3 separate regions of the Homo sapiens genome follow, and regions 2 and 3 are each linked to region 1. The links are contacts of gene promoters, found by promoter capture Hi-C in blood cells and fetal thymus (Javierre and others, 2016). All regions are on one chromosome and are shown on one strand. Each heading gives the region's core, a stretch centred on a gene start or on the middle of the fragment in contact. The rest is flanking DNA. Distances are from core to core; before and after follow the strand shown. Region 1 holds the start of SERPINB13 (serpin family B member 13). Region 2 overlaps SERPINB10 (serpin family B member 10). Region 3 holds the start of SERPINB2 (serpin family B member 2).

Evidence for each region. The method cuts DNA at HindIII sites, captures the fragments that hold promoters and counts their contacts. A CHiCAGO score of 5 or more calls a contact.
Region 2: a contact is called between a fragment that was not itself captured here and the fragment with the promoter of SERPINB13 in region 1, in 1 of 17 cell types (M1 macrophages). The highest score is 5.2, in M1 macrophages.
Region 3: a fragment that was not itself captured here is called in contact with the fragment with the promoter of SERPINB13 in region 1 in 2 of 17 cell types (M2 macrophages and M1 macrophages); the score reaches 5.6 in M2 macrophages.

What each region holds. Positions count from the first base shown.
Region 1 is chr18:63,585,704-63,588,923 of GRCh38, forward strand. It overlaps SERPINB13 (serpin family B member 13), which reads left to right and starts at 1,640. Exons shown (of 8, transcript NM_012397.4): 1 at 1,640-1,747; 2 at 2,948-3,129. The coding sequence starts at 2,965. RefSeq lists an enhancer at 2,926-3,220. The HindIII fragment of the contact is 1,527 bases long and covers 450-1,976 here.
Region 2 is chr18:63,915,768-63,918,987 of GRCh38, forward strand. SERPINB10 (serpin family B member 10) reads left to right here. Exons shown (of 8, transcript NM_005024.3): 3 at 1,689-1,754; 4 at 2,198-2,335. Among named protein-coding and RNA genes, the nearest start is that of SERPINB10, 9.4 kb to the left of the region's middle. The HindIII fragment of the contact is 4,705 bases long and covers 1-3,220 here.
Region 3 is chr18:63,887,210-63,890,429 of GRCh38, forward strand. It overlaps SERPINB2 (serpin family B member 2), which reads left to right and starts at 496. Exons shown (of 8, transcript NM_002575.3): 1 at 496-561. The region is part of intron 2 of LOC124904356 (a long non-coding RNA gene); the gene reads right to left. The HindIII fragment of the contact is 8,502 bases long and covers 1-3,220 here.

The DNA.
Region 1 (3,220 bases), core at 390-2,889:
TGAAAATTAGGTTTAGAGAGAATAAGGATGAGAATCTGTCACCAGATGGAGGTGCTTGAGTGTTAAACAAGAGCAGTTCCTGGTGTGAGTGGGCCACTATAAAAGAGGGAAGGTGAAGGTCCGAGAAGTGAGAGGCGCTGGCAACAGGAATGGTGAAGTGGTACAGGGTGGCGGTAGCAGCTGGGGTGGACAGGAAGACCATATGCAGAGTCACGGAGGGACCTGTGGTTGGGGACAGAGCAGCACAGCGTGATGGTCTAAGTTTCCAAAGGGGAGCATTGAAGGTGACTGAAGGAAGAAAGACTTGGAAGAAGAGGGAGTGCGAGGGAGAATAGGAATGGTGACTTTGCTTTCCCAAGATATGAGTGGCCGTTCCCAGAAAAGACTATGGGATGTAGTAGTCCTCAGGACATGCCAGGTTTCCCGGTGAAAGCAGGTGGTAGAGCAAAAGCTTTAGCAAAAAGCAGAAGGCCTGTGGAAATGGCTGGGCAATAGAACAGGAAGTCTAGGGGCCACAGAGAAAGAAATAAGAAGATATAAATGGATAGGGATATTAAAACATAAAGCATTATGGCCGACTCAGAGATTTTATGCCATTTTAAAAAACTAACATTTCCATTTCACTGGCATCCAGGGTTCACTAAGTGTTAATTCTTTCTAAACCTTACTCAATTTGCAAGATTCTCAGTGCCTATTAAAAAGCAAATCAACTAAATGTGGCTTTGAGTTTGCTTAAAGAGCAGCAATCAAAATATTTTGAAAAAAGTAAATTGTGAGTATGGAGATTGGAACACACATGACCCATATGCCCTTCGAGCCTGCGTATCTAGGGAGGTGTTCCTCTAGGCAGAAGGAAGAGCTAAGACACCCTTCTAGGAGCTGCTGCCCAGCAACGATGGCAAATCTCCACGCCCTTTACTGAAGATTAAAGCTAAGACTAATCCAAGCACAGTTTCTTTTAATGAACTGGTAGGGCCAGTAGAAATGCTCCAGGGTTGGCAGGAAAAACTGGAATCTGGGGGTGTAATTTCCTATTGAGTTTTTTTGGTAGTGTTGTTTTCCTGAAATCAGTGAGGATATTGAGTGCTTATGAATTATTGGCATTAGACACAGTACCTGGTACATAATAGACTTGATAAATGTTTATTGAATGAATTAAAATGAGATATTTTACAATTAATGGATGGAATACTTGAGAATAATAGGTGTGTGTGTGTATGTGTGTGTGCGTGTGTGTGTGTGCGCATGCTCGCTTGTGTGTGGCTGCCTACCCAAACTTTTCTTGTTCTTTTTTCTTGTTCCTTTGTAGCAAGATAGTTTTCTTTCATTTTCTTCCTGGCATTTGGCACTCCTAAATAATGCAAATGCAAAAATAACTCTGTTACAGAGAATGACTTGTCAGGACACAGCTCTGTCCATCTGTGGTAAGTAAAGTATGCATTTAATGTATGTGTTCATCAGGCTATACACCTTTGGTTCCCAGCGTTGGCTGTACATTGTAATCACCTGCGGTGATAAAAATTCTGATGCCTGGTTTCCACTCGAGAGATGCTGACTCAGTTGGTCTGGGGTGGGGCTTGGGCATAGATTTTTTTTAAAGTTCCAAGGAGATTTTAAGGTGCACGCAAGGTGGAAAACCACTGCTGAAGCAGATGTGGAGAACTATAAATTAAGGATCCCAGCTACTTAATTGACTTATGCTTCCTAGTTCGTTGCCCAGCCACCACCGTCTCTCCAAAAACCCGAGGTAAGTTCTTATTTTGGCTCCAATTTAAGACCTCTGTATTTTGAGAACAATGATGTTTGTTGTTTGAAAGAATTACTTTTATTTTGCATAGACTTTCTGGAGGTAGTTTTATTTAATTCAGTTCCAACATGGCCATGACAATGTATCTTCTTTGACAGTAAATTAATCCATTTTATTTCTGAGTTAACCTGTAAAGGATCTCTGCAAGGAAACCTGAGGTTGAAATGAAAGCTTTGATATCAGATGTGGGATGCCTTAGCGGGGATGAGCCCTTGAGGGCAAAAGGCCCCAAAGTATGTGGGCTTTAAAAAACTTTATTTTTCATTAATCTTATTCTTGTTTTAGGATTCCTCCTAAAGCCTTTACTTACTAGTTTTAAAGTAGTTGGTAATGAAGCAAACATAAAAACAGTTCTACCTATTTATTTTTGGCAAATATTAATTGCTCTTTAAAAACTATTTTTGTGAAATGACAAAAGTAATGCAAGCTCATGTACAAGCCTAAAACAATACAGAAAAGTATAAAAAAGAAAACCCTTTCATCTCCACCTAATAATTCATGACCAGAGATATGTGGTTTCTGCTTCAGAAAAATTCAGCCCAGAGTCAAGTTTGTATGCAGTTAGGGAAAGGGGTTTAAGAGATTTAATCAATCCTGTCACTCTCTGGGCTGAATTTTGAATCAATTGAGAAATAGTATCAGATAAGGATTCAAGTCTCGGCTTAATTATTGCTAAGGTTGGATCTGAGAGCACTGTTTGAACTTGAGGCCCGTGGAGATTCTTGTGCCTACCCCCCTGCCTTATCATGGGCCCCACATCTGGACAAACTGGTGTCGCCTGGACAAGGGCTGGGTCTACCTGGGGAAGCTTCCATGAAGAGGAGGCTGTGGAGAGGCAGAGACAGGCAGGGTCAGACAGAGAGCAAGAGAATAAAGCCATTAAAACATTAACCCTGCTCCGCGGGGAAATAAGAACTGAGCACCACCGGATGACGGAAGACTCCAGTAGATTGATGGATGTCTCCCAGCAAGAGAAGGCCAAGAGAGGACGTGAGAAGCAGGCAGCAGCGACCTTTCACCAAAAGGGTGGAAATCCCTGTATTCCGGATCGATGCAAGAAGAGGAATAGAAGCAGAAAGGATTCCCCTGACACAGAGTAATTCAAATGTTCAGTTTTGATTGTTGTTCTTGCTATTCTAGGTCTCGCTAAAATCATCATGGATTCACTTGGCGCCGTCAGCACTCGACTTGGGTTTGATCTTTTCAAAGAGCTGAAGAAAACAAATGATGGCAACATCTTCTTTTCCCCTGTGGGCATCTTGACTGCAATTGGCATGGTCCTCCTGGGGACCCGAGGAGCCACCGCTTCCCAGTTGGAGGAGGTTGGGCGCAGTCAGGGGGCTTCCTTGTTTCCTATGCACAAATTCATTTGGCGGGGGGGTTGTCAGCCCTCTTGCATTATCTTAAAAATAC
Region 2 (3,220 bases), core at 480-2,979, 330 kb after region 1:
AATTTACATTTCACAATAACATTCTCTAAAACAAGACATACATTAAAACATTCTATACCATAAAACAAATCTTGGTAAAGAGAATCAATTTGCAAACTGTTGCTAGGAAAACCATTTGAGAACCTGTGTCCTTTAGCAAAATAAAATGGAGAAAGGATAAGGTTATCAATTTTTGTTCAACACCAAAACCAATTTTATTTTGATGATATTATTTCAAAAAGTAATTGGTCAAACTTTAAATAATAGAATTATTCAGCATCTTTATAATCACATAAGGATTTTCTTGAAGACACAAAAAAGAAAAATAAAAGAATTCTGTTTCTCATGCTTTGTTTGATTCTCTCTTTGTTTAGTCCCTGGTTATCTGAATGAATCTAAGGAGCCCATTAAGATCATTACAATAACAATATAATACTATTATATACAGAACTATTTTTGCAATAAGCATCCTCAAAACATTGTGCGTATGTAAATATATATATGTAGTCATAGATAGCAAAATAGCCATATGTGTGTGTAAAAATATATATGAATACATATATATATGCAACAATATGTATATATAAATGTGATTTTAAATAAAAAAAAAAAAAAACAGAAGGAGTAAACTCGGCCCTAAATCTTGCAAAACCAAAAGGCCAAATGACAGAATTTTCACCCAAGAAGGTGACTTCCTCAGAAAGTATGGATATGAACACGGTTGGTAATTCTGAGGGAAGTGGGCAGAACACATGCTATATTAGTCTGGACTTGGGATAACATCCTTACTCTTGTAGTTCACAAGATATCAGGTGGTTTAAAAACAACAACAGCAACAACAAAATCCTTGTTCACAACTTGTTAATGACAGGTTCATTAGCTCAAAAGTCTTAATCATTAATGTGATAGACAATCTTAAGTGGATTCCAATGTGAATCTATTTCATATAAATATATTGCTGGGTGTTGCTTGTCCTTGTTTCGGATGTTAACACTTTTAGTTGCAAATGGGCCTCATGAATTAACTGTGCACCCCTTTATGTATGGCAGGTGGCCCTTGTTCTGTTAACATGGGTCAATGCAACCGTTGAAGCAGTATACCGTATTTCTTATTGTCAGCCGGGTCCAGGACTTGGCAGATAAAAGTATTGCCTTCTGTTCTATTGTTGTACAATTCCAAGGAAAGAAGAGTATCTACATCTTTCCTGTTAACTTTCCAGTGAAATGCTGGGGTAAACACAAACATTGCGCCTAAATATGTCAAGTGGTGGTAGACAATAGGAACTGAGCATTTAACTAGAAAAAAAACAACTAAAATTCCTTAATTTTCCACATAATTATGGCTTTTACCTAAACTGTCTAAATGATGGTCTCAGTTGGACACCTAGCATTCTTCTTAAAACAACCATGAGTAAAAAGGAAATACGGAAAATAAGAGAATTTTACCTCAAGGTTTTCCTAACATCATTCTAGTTACAAAACATAGGAAAATAAAGAGACTAGCAACTTAAATTCGACTTTAGAAAATTTATTTAAGAGCAGTTCTTGACTTATTTTATTACACACATTAAGTCAAGTCAGAGCCCCTTTGTTTAACTAATTATATGTTCTGCAATTATAGGAATGACTGACTTGTATTTACAGATGATGTATGATTTATATAATTACTTCTCTGCAGTCTATTCATTTGTATTTTTATTGAAATTACAGGTGCTTCAATTTAACAGAGACCAGGGAGTCAAATGTGACCCTGAAAGTGAAAAAAAAAGGAAAATGGTATATCTTATCCTTTAATATATATTTCATAATTAAGGAAAAAGTACTTTTAGCACATGTATTTTAGTGATAACTGAAGCAACTTTTAGCAGGTAATTTTTCTTAGAAACATATATTAAAGTTACAGAAACTTTTTTTGGAATACAAAATATCTACACCTTTTGAAAGATCTCTTGTCCCCACGCCCTTTTAATCTCTCTAAAAATTTCTCTAGTTTCAAACTTTTCCTTGCCTGCTTTTGCAAACTAAATGTGAAGAAAATTATGGCCTCAATAACATTTCATTCTTTTGCACTAACACTAAAGAAAACATTTTTATCCACTTTAGGAACATTTTCAACTTTTGTTTGCAATTCCCCAAATAATTTTATTTAGCTTTAGTTTGCTAACATGTACGTAACTCTTGTTCAACATTTTATTTGACTAGTTCCTTCTCTTTTAAAGGAATTCAACTTGAGCAACTCGGAAGAAATACACTCTGATTTCCAAACACTTATCTCAGAAATCCTCAAGCCCAACGATGACTACTTACTTAAAACAGCCAATGCGATATATGGAGAGAAAACGTATGCATTTCACAATGTAAGTGCAAATGTCTTATTTTAAGCTAATGGAAAAGAAAGAGCAATGTGAGACCAATCAGTAAACTCTGTATATTTCTTTAGGGATCCAGGGACAATCTTCATGTGGTCAGTACTTCCCTGCAAACAATCAATTAGACCAACCAATGAGTGTCTAGTGGTAAAGGAAACCAATAACAGGTCTCAAATCAGATCTAGGAATCAGATATTTCTGTCTAGAATAAAGAGGTAGCCCCTGAGAATGGCCTACAAATACATATGGAGACTTGGCTGGAGACTGTCTACTTGAGAGCAAAACTGACCTTGGGATGAGAGAAGTGAGGAGTTTTCACATCAAGACTTTACAGACTTTGGGAACATGAAACATGAAATAATATCAACCTCTCCTCTTTACTAAGGGTTGAAACCCCACCAATGCAGACCATGATGACTCTGTCCTCTGTTAAGAGGGTCACATGACAACCCAGGTCAATAATTTCCTTCATTGTCCAACATCTCTTTGGGCAGGAGGACCCGTGTGTCCAGTGGGCAAAGAGCAAGGAAATTAGATAGGGTAGAAGAATAGCAATAAGATAAAATAAAGCTACCTTGTGATTTCAAGCAATGCTATCTCTGTTCAAATCTAGTGAATTCTGGGGAGTTCAGGAATTGAGCTTTGTTATTACTAAAGACATAAAATCATCCAAATGGAATCTTAAAGACAGTTTCCTTTCTTGTAGGCTCATGGACTCTCGTTTGATGCAGAAGTAGGAGACATGATTGACTCAGTGGGCACTTAGAAACAAGAGGGACACAGAGATAGAGACAAACATATTTTTATATGTCCACAAGCCCTGAATTAAGACAGGCAGTGGTCCCTCAAAAATATTTAAGTTTTCCTTTTATT
Region 3 (3,220 bases), core at 188-2,687, 300 kb after region 1:
CTTGAGACAATGTAAGACAGATTAAAATAGAGAATTTCTAAGACAGAAAATGGATTTTTTCTTCCCTCCCATGCCCTAAGCATCGCTTGGGTCTCCCTAGGCTCAAAAGAGAGAGTAAATCTCATTATATTTATATATTGGAAGAAGCCCACAGGCCATGGTTGTCCAAAGCTAGAAGAAGTATTGTAGAATTTGATACTATCCTTGAGCACAAGTATAGTGGGGGAAATCTTGAAACTGGGGCTGACAGATTTTAGCTAACTTTCACAGGCATGTGTAGATATTGACAAATTCTTAAGTTTCAGAGTGACCTCATCCTCCCCCAAAATTTCTTAAACCATGCCTTTACAAACAAGTATTTCTATTCTAATGATGTCTTCCTGAGTAAAATGTTGAATCACTCAAAGGACACAGATCAAAAGACAGAGGGAGAAAAAAAAATGCCATGTGGGAGGGGCAAAGCTGTATAAAACCAGTCATTACCATGTCTGAACTGTAACAACTCTCAGAGGAGCATTGCCCGTCAGACAGCAACTCAGAGAATAACCAGAGAACAACCAGGTATTTCAATGATTTCCATGCCATGTCTATGGGAAATAGGGTTTCATGTTTTCTCTTCCCTCATGCTGGTATTAATAGATTGAAAATTTGGATGTGGGGTGTTTGTAGAGGGCGAGTAAAATTTAAGTGGTGTTTTCTTGTTTAGTTGTTGAATTGAAAATATTTTATTTCAAGATTTGAATTAAATTTATAAGGTTTAATTTTGAATCTCAGAAGCCAACAAATACCTTTGTAGCATTAACCAAAACAAAATGTACATTCAGATTGTGATGCCAATTTTATTGAACAGATTAGATTATATATGTTCTCTACTAGCTACTGTTTTGACACTAAATTTGATGGAAACAACTAGATACATTAAAATATTTTCATTTAAGCAATTGAATGTAATCTCTACATTGTATATAAATAATAGGAAAAGAAGACTTCATTTGCACCTTAAATGAAAAAGCAGGAACTGCAAAAATTAAGTAGCAATTTGGGCTGGGTCAATCTAGTACAACAATATGTTTATTGAGTTTAGTTCAATAATGGGTCAATTTAGTGAAAGAGAATAATCAGCCAAAGTAGTTGCAGGGTTGACTGAAGTATGGTTCAGTAAATAACTTAATATCCCATAAAAAGATACTTATTCATTATGAAAGCCATCAACTAGGAGAAATTGCTTTTAATTCTGTTGGGGGAGATGTAGCAGTATTTGATGAGATATTCCCTTGAAACTGTTGTTTTCTCTTAGTTCTCATTAATTTTTGTGGTCAATTTCAAAATATTTCCACTGTCTAATTGTAAACAAAATTTGTTTTAAATGCTACAGCAAACTCCAATCTAACATCCAGGGCCAACAGGGTGAGAGACAATGGCCGTGTGCCTGGTGACTCCTCCCAAATTCTTCCTTCCCTGTGCCAAGTTTCAGTGGTGCATTTGTCAACTTGTGTTGCAGGAACCAACACACACACCACCAGGAAGCCCAACCCTGCATATTACTCCCATTAATTCATCCCAGTAATACTATTAAACCTTAATTAAGAGCATACTATTTGGAAGTTAATGAGATCATATAAATTACTATAATGTTAAAAAATTCACAACAGGTATACCTGTTCCAGGAGGCTGTGGTATTTCACAATACCCCATGACTTCAATTTTGCCTTGTTTTGAAAGATTTTCATTCAAACATAAAGTATGGCCTTATCTGAGAGTCAGGAAACACTGCATATGGGTGCCTTCATAGATTTCTAAAATTATGAAACTCTCAGACCTTATTTGAAAAGTTTGTAGGAAAGCATTAGACTTGGAATCAGAAGTCTGTGATCCAGTCTAGGCTTCTGAAATGGACCAGCTGTGCAATCTCTATTTTCATATTTTCATTCATATTACAGAAATTACTAAGCCTTACTGGACAGGTAATTATGCAAATTGAAAAGGGAGCTGAAGGAATTTGGTGACTGCCATACAGACATCAAATATTATTTTTACATTAAATGTAATTAATTACACCTTATTTAAAAATATAATTGAAACTATCTTTTTTGAAAGAAGTAAATGCATCCAGGAAAATTTGCTTCTGTTCTTATTAATTTTTTTCTTTATCAAGTTACCTTAAATTCTAACTTAGTATTAACAGAACTTTCTGTTAGTTTGTCTTTAGAGTTAAATATTTTTACTATCAAAGTTACTATGTGGATTGTTACAAAGAATCCGGTATGAATTGTTACAAAGAATCACGTATTTAGGTATGGGAGAAGTCTAAATTTATGTTTGTGGCTCTGATCTCTTATTTACATTTCTCACATGGGGATCGAGAAATATTTTATTTGTGTTATTAATACTCAGTTTGTTTCCAAAAGATATTGAGATAATTAATTTTAAAAATCTGTACAATAAATCTATTTAATTATGAAGACAATTTTAAGAGGAAGAGGAACAAATTTTTGAGCCATCCAATGTAATCTAGTATCTATGATGAAGCAAGAGAAAAAAAAAGTGACTTTTTGTTTTTACTTCCTAATAAGCCTTCTAGTAGAATTACAGGTTTACTACTTTTTTCTTTTGACTTCCTCTTTCTAGCATTTCTTGCACTACAACTTGCTTAAGCTCTTACACTTCATAGTGAAGCTATGCACCACCGAGTGAAGCGATGTGGAACATTGGAAAGAGTGGGCTTCCTTAGACAGACCTGGGCTTGAATCCCTGCTCCACTACCTACCAGCTGTGTGACCTTATACAAGTTACTTAATGTTTCTGAGCATCAGGATATAATCTATAAAATAGGGAGAATCACCTCTACCTCATACAGATTCTGCAAAGATTAAACGAGGAGAGGAGGTGAGAGAGTTTTAGGGATACGTTTTATTTAATTTACTATTTTTGTCTTGATAAAATAGTCTGGTTGTATTCCAAATGAGACATTTTAATACAAATAAATTCCAATCACTTTCTTAAAAAAAAAGAGTTCATGAATCAAGGGTTCACGCAAGAAAGAAGCGACCAATGGTCCTTGTTGGAGAGCAATGCTGTGTGAGACCACAGGTGTACACAGCCAAGACCAGAGCCAGAGGACATGCTTCCTCCTGGGTACTTCCAGCCCCTCCCCAGTTCGGGGAAGGCACTGTCATAAGAAGGTTTCCTGAGGGATGATCAGTATCAGCATTGTTTGGTA